Linked DNA regions of Homo sapiens: region 1 is linked to region 2. The links are contacts of gene promoters, found by promoter capture Hi-C in human tissues and cell types (Jung and others, 2019). All regions are on one chromosome and are shown on one strand. Each heading gives the region's core, a stretch centred on a gene start or on the middle of the fragment in contact. The rest is flanking DNA. Distances are from core to core; before and after follow the strand shown. Region 1 has its middle 58 kb from the start of PHACTR1. Region 2 holds the start of PHACTR1 (phosphatase and actin regulator 1).

Region 1 (3,285 bases), core at 211-2,710, 58 kb after region 2:
TACAGTGACGACATGCCTTAGTGAAGCTTGTACATGTGTGTGGGTGCCAGAGCCAAAGAGAGAAAACATATATCTTTCCTCAATCCCCTTTCGAAAAATGAAACTGCTGCATTAGCAAGGTTACTTGAAAAAGATTATTACCTATTCTATTTTTCTTTCTTTTTTTTTTTTTTTTTTGAGACCAAATCTCGCTGTATTGCCCAGGCTGGAGTGCAGTGGCGCGCAAGCTCACTGCAACCTCTGCCTCCTGGGTTCAAGTGATTCTCCTGCCTCAGCATCCCGAGTAGTTGGGATTGCAGGAGTGCGCTACCACGTCCGGCTAATTTTTGTATTTTTAGTAGAGGCGGGGTTACACTGTGTTGGCCAGGCTGGTCTCAAACTCCTGACCTCAAGTGATCTCCCCTTCTTGGCCTCCCAAAGTGCTGGCATTACAGGCGAGAGCCACCACGCCTGGCCTGTTACCTATTCTTTTAAGAAGGTTGTCCCAAATAGTTTTCTTTGAGAGTTACTCTGCTTATTTAAGGCTGGTTTGTTTGTTTTTGCCTTCTTCTCCTTGAACTGTGAAATCAAAAGACAAGTGGAATGGACAAAACCAACGCAAGGTAACTCAGCCAACACTGACAGCTGTCAGTCACTGGAGTTTTTGAAAGAGGAAGCACTTGTTTTCCACTGCAGCCAAAAAAAGGTAATATGAGCAAGCTTGATGGCAAGGTTCTGCTACGTTACTAAAAATGGAAATGTTGCCTGGGCGCGGTGGCTCAGGCCTGTAATCCCAGCACTTTGGGAGGCTGAGTTGGGCAGATTGCCTGAGGTCAGGAGTTCCAGACCAGCCTGGGCAACATGGCGAAACCCTGTCTCTACTAAAAATACAAAAAATTAGCCTGGCATGGTGGCGGGTGCCTGTAATCACAGCTACTCGGGAGGCTGAGGCAAGAGAATCGCTTGAGCCCAGGAGGCAGAGGTTGCAGTGAGCCGAGATGCGCCACTGCCCTCCAGCCTGGGTGACAGAGTAAGACTCTGTCTCAAAAAAAAAAAAAAAAAAAAAAAAAAAAAAAAAAAAAAAAAAAAGGAAATGTTTTTTCTTTGCTTTATTTGAAGATTGTCTTAAGAATAGTGAGATCATTTGAAAAGAAAATGAACAAAAAAGTCTATAATTGTTTGAAAATAATTTAGAAATGTTTATTTAGTTACTGATATTAAGGATAGTAAGGGAATTCATTAACAATCAGTTGCCCTGAAAATAAATATGCTTCTCAAATATCCAGAAAAGAGCAAATACTCTCAGTTTTCATTTTAGTAAAATTAGAGTACCATTTGGATAAATAAAAAATTGTTCTAAGAAAAATACAATGAGGTGCTAAGTGCTTCCCCTGAGTATAATTTTTAGGCACAGTCATTCACATTGTGTTTATTAAGCAGACACAGGTGATTTATATGCATACTTAAGGGTTTTCTAATATATATTGGGTAAAAACTCCATTTAAAACAATGTATCTTTTTTTATAATATTTTATTATTTAGTATAGTATATTTGATATTATAACATACAGAAAATTTTACACATACAGAAAAATTGAAAGAATTTTAGAGCAAACACTGAATACACACCAAGATTCTACCATTAACATTTTGCTATACTCACTTTATCACATAGGTATCCACCCCACTAATCATGTAGAAATTACCATCCTTGCAGAAGCCCTCTCATGCCTTTCTCCGCCAATCCCCAGCCCTTCCTCCCAAAGGCAAAGACTCTAGATTGTCATCCACCTTAGATTTAAAACTCAAATTTAAATGCCACTAATGACTTCCCGAATGCTTATATCATTTTGAAATAGTTGGAAATTTACATAATCCTTTTAATTTGTAAAGTAATCTATCTAATGGGTATTGTCCTTTCTGGTCAAACAAATCAGAGCCCACAGTTCAGGAAGAATCATCAGTCCTCCAGTACAGCATCACTTTGGGTGACAGTTGATCTGTGGGACTCAGTTCTTCATTTGTAAAATAGAGATATCTATACCAGCCTCAGACTCACCTCTGGCATGTTGTAGGTAAGAAAAAGAAGAAAGAGTTAAAGCTTCTACCAAAATGCAAAATGTTTTCCTTAGATGTAGTGATTAGGCAAATTGAATTATTAATGGCACATTGCAGGTACAGTCTTGGCAATCACATGTTTTGCTAAATAAACATTGTGAGCTTTATTTCCTGGAAAATTTGGTAGAATTACATAATTGGCTCAGTGTGCTATAGTTCCACTTTTCTCATTAAGGACATTTAAATTCTTGCTCTAACAAAGCGTGTAAAAACACTCTTTACAATAGTGGTATGTAATAATACGCTTATTTTCTGTCCACTCTAATAATTCAAATACATTTTATTTATTTCATCTTTGTTATTTATTAAATAAATATTTAAGAATAAAATAAAAGAACATTGAGGTCTTTTCTCTACATACTAATGGTAGATCATTTTTAAATTGTTGCCTAAACCACTGCAAAAAAAAAAAAAAAATTGACAGCTGATCATTTTGAACCAAAGAAATTTCTAGCTAAATTACTGCAGGTCTCAAGCACATGAACCATTTCAGATATAAGTCAATTTGAAAATGAGGTTGGAAATCAGTACCCTGAAGAGGCAGCGCAGAACATTTAAATCGCATGGCCTTTGGTTTCCAAATTTGGTGTGTAAATGTTACTGCCTTTAGATGTGACTTTAGAGAAGTCAGTTTCCATCTCTGAATTGTGGCTTTGTAGGTTCCAGAGCATTTATTTGTCCAGGGTATGGTTTGTGATGAGGAGTGTGGGTGAGTTCTTCCTGTGAGTCTATTTACTTCTCAGCCCGGGGCATTCCTTTGTGGCATGTGGGGTCTTTTCCATTGAATGTGCGTGATTCTCTAACTTTGATACGGTTCCCATTTAACCCCAGCAGAGCACAGAGAGATAGGATCATGATGTTCTCAAGTCAGTGATTCTCATGCTTTAATGCACCAAAGGATCCCCTAGGATGTTGATAAAAGTAAGGCTGTTGTGGGATTCAAGCTTCTGCATTTCTAATAAGCTTCCTGGTGAGGCCTATGCTGCTGTTCGCCAAACCCACTTAGAGTAGCAAGATCTTTAGAGAAGGATCAAGAATGACGTGTTCCCTAAGCAGACTAGTCCATGAAAACAATCTTGCCACAGCTGGTCAAATTCATCTAATTGAGCAGCAACAGGTCAAAATATAATCAATTCCTTTCTTGTCGTTCAACTTGCCCTAGAGCATTATTTTTCCCTCTCAGGCAAA
Region 2 (3,276 bases), core at 712-3,211:
CAGAGTTTTGAGAGAAAACACTGGAACACCTATAAAGAGGAAAAAAAAATCCACAATATTTTAGACGTCAAGTATAAAGTGTATATATAGATGTACTTTAAAATGTTTGAATAAGAATATCCCATTATAATATTCTACTACTTGATTGACATTTGCAATTCTAAAGCCACCCCCCAGCATAGCTTTCCTACCGTGTGAGAAAATGCCGCATTTAGCCAACATTCATTAAAAGTAATATATTCTACTCAGGAAAAACAGATGATCTGATCTAAAGAGAGATAACATACCAGCCTTTCCTTGCTTTATATTCTCTGGAACATATACTGTTAAATTCACATGCTATCAGTTTTCAAAAGGTCTATTTGATAAATAGCGTCATTAAGTGTCAGCCGTTGTGAGTGTTGATCCTCAGCTCATCCTGGGACTTTCGGATTCCCCTGGAGCAGGGAAAATTGCCTGGGAATCCGAGCCTCCACTCATAGATGCCGTGCGTTTATGACACACACTGACATATTTGCTGTACAAATGCTTTGAATTCCTTCCTTTCCGGCGATTCCCTTCAGCACATTTTATAAAGTGCTAGAGGATCGTCACCTGCCTGTGCCTGGCAGGGGCTGATTTTTGAGAAACAATTGTGGTTTGTAGAGCAGCAAGAATGATTGCAGCATTACAGTGATCCCTATATTATCATACACTAGCCTGTCACAAAGCTAATATACTTCCCCAGAAAACATTCAGCCTGTTGGGTTCTTTTTTCAAGCCTATGTAGCCTTTCCCTGATACTCACACAAATGAATTATCTCTATTTCTGCAGAATATTTTTTTGGAAAGAATTAACAAGACAAAGTCATTAAAACCAAGCTTGGAAGTCTAATCCAATTGGTTTCTCTTTCTAACAGTATGTATTTTAATTTAAGAAACCAAGTCCGGTAAGACAAAACTTTTAAAAATACCCAAAGGTACCCCAATAGCAAATATACTTACTGCAAAAAATAAAAATCAAAGGCTATCTGTCAGCGGTAAAACAAGAGCCGTTCCAGCCAGAGTGTCTTTGATCTTGCTAAATATTCCCGGTGAAAGTAAACGATTTTGATTGTTTGATTAGAACAGTGATGAATAATGCATACAGTCCACTGGACTTCCTTTATCAGATAAAATGGCCAGAGCACGTTACCTTAGCAACGGAAGGTGACGCCAGCCTCAGCCTCTGCACCCTCCCCTGCGAAGGGAGAAAATTACCAGTTTCCCGTGTAAAACTTTGGCAGAAAATCATCAAATCCACATGCATACATCATGCAGGGCTATTCCCCAGCCCCCTATCTCTTAGGCAGAGAAGTGCCATAGTCATTAAAAAAAAAACAAAACAGATTTATGTCTTCATTGTTTATTTTCATAATCCCAAATCTTAGTTTGATTTGCAGCTACAAAAGAATAGAATATGAAATGATTAAAAATTTAATATATAGAAAAGTTGTCTAGAAATTTTTGTGGGGGCACCAGTTATTACCCTAATGCTGGCCTAAGAGTGGCAGGGAATGGGGGAGTTTAGGGAAAGGCCATTTTAGCTTAACATACGTTAGACATTCCCCTGTTATAATTAATACACAGAACAGCCACCGGCATCTAGGCTGAAAATAACTCTTCCCTTCTGCAAATCAGTCACTGGAAGAAGCTTAAAAAGCTGTCTGAAATTTCCCAGATTCTGAAAGACATATTATAGCATAGATTTTGTGGGAGATCCCCACTCCCCCCACAACCCCCATCCCCGGCAAAGGAAAATTAGCCAAAAAGATATTTGAAAGGAAGAGTCTGGAAGTTAGCGGATACTCACCGGCACTTGTTGACCCCTTTCAACAGGACACGGTAGAGTACAAAACAAAGCAGTGCGACGCTTCTGAGCCCGCAAGCACAAATGAACAGCTTCTAATTTTCCCTTCAATCTCGCTTCAAGAGCACTGAGCAGAGGGAAGTGATGGATTTGCCCATTTATACTGTGATGAAATGCAACCCTTAAGAAGAGATCTGAGTGGAGCTGCTCTTTAGAACACATTAGACTGCTAATTTAAGAAAATTGAAAGGTTTTGTTTTACTGTCTTTTATGTGTTCTTCTCTGCTACCCCCTCAATTTAATTTGCATTTAAAATTATTCTCATGTCTCCTCAGCTCTCCAAGGTGTGGAGTACTTTCTAATCATGAAGGCTGCTCCAGTAGGGTTTGGTGCAACACCACTTTTATGCTGAGCTGCAAAACAAGGCAGGTAGTCATAATTGTGAGCTGTTTTCTGGAGCGAAATACAGAGGGCACGTTTGATGTCACCCCTTCCCTCTTGCCTGGCTTTCTTCCTTTCCTTGCTTCTGATTGCCTGGTCAAATATCCAGCGCAGATCATGCCAGTCTGCCTAAATGCATTTCTCTCTGTCTGAATGTAACAAAATAATACCAACAACAAAAATAAACTTTGGCTAGTATCTCAAGTTATTCTGGTTTAATATTCTTCCTACCAAACCTCAGTAATGACTTTTAGGCACAGTACTTTGAGATCTTCATGCAGGGCATAGTGATAGCCAAATGCAAGCCCTACTGTGGGTTTTCCACAACCTCTTGCACCCTTTGTTGACCAAGCAGAATTGCTCATTAGTATGGTGTGGTGTACAGTGGGTCAGCTTGTTAAGAAAAGAGCATTTACATTTGATAAGCCTCGGAAGGAAGACCATCAACACCACCCCTGTCCCCCCACTCCCTATACACAGCTCGGCTGGCTGCCCTTGAAACAAACCTGAAAATCCTCTGCTGTTTGTTTTGTGGGGTCTCCCTCTCCCACCCGATCAGAACAGATCAGACACCAAGCCGGTGCTGCAGACAGTTAAGCCTCATGAAAAAGGAAGCTGAAACTACCAATCATATGCCCTTGTAGGAAAGTCAACTATGGACTCTGAATTCTGAAAGCTTTGCTCCAACCCAAGGACTGACTTCTTTAAGGTTACTTTTCTATTCAGCACCCACTGGAGACATGCTGAACACTTGACATTTATAAGAGGAGAAAGCTGTCTTCTGGTTCCTTTTACTTACTGTGAGGTGTGGGCGACAGGTTCTGAACTCGTTATTGTAATTCTACTGAAATTGTAATGACTCATAGATGAGAGAAAGAGAGAGAGAGAGAGTATAAGTCTATGCTGCTGACCAAACCTTTAGGTGAGTGCAAATGAATGTGTGATTGAAGAAAGAGATGCTAAACTGGAAATGTGAAAAATAGAGTTGATTCCCAGGGGGTAGGTGG

Evidence for each region. Contacts are between HindIII fragments. The study calls those that stand out against the background at their distance.
Region 1: a contact is called between a fragment that was not itself captured here and the fragment with the promoter of PHACTR1 in region 2, in 2 of the 25 tissues and cell types used here (dorsolateral prefrontal cortex and spleen).

What each region holds. Positions count from the first base shown.
Region 1 is chr6:12,656,993-12,660,277 of GRCh38, reverse strand. No RefSeq gene overlaps it. Among named protein-coding and RNA genes, the nearest start is that of PHACTR1, 58 kb to the left of the region's middle. The HindIII fragment of the contact is 3,182 bases long and covers 1-3,051 here.
Region 2 is chr6:12,715,452-12,718,727 of GRCh38, reverse strand. It overlaps PHACTR1 (phosphatase and actin regulator 1), which reads right to left and starts at 1,961. Exons shown (of 15, transcript NM_030948.6): 1 at 1,832-1,961; 2 at 985-1,219; 3 at 1-29. The region is part of intron 1 of LOC107984015 (a long non-coding RNA gene); the gene reads left to right. The HindIII fragment of the contact is 3,467 bases long and covers 1-2,309 here.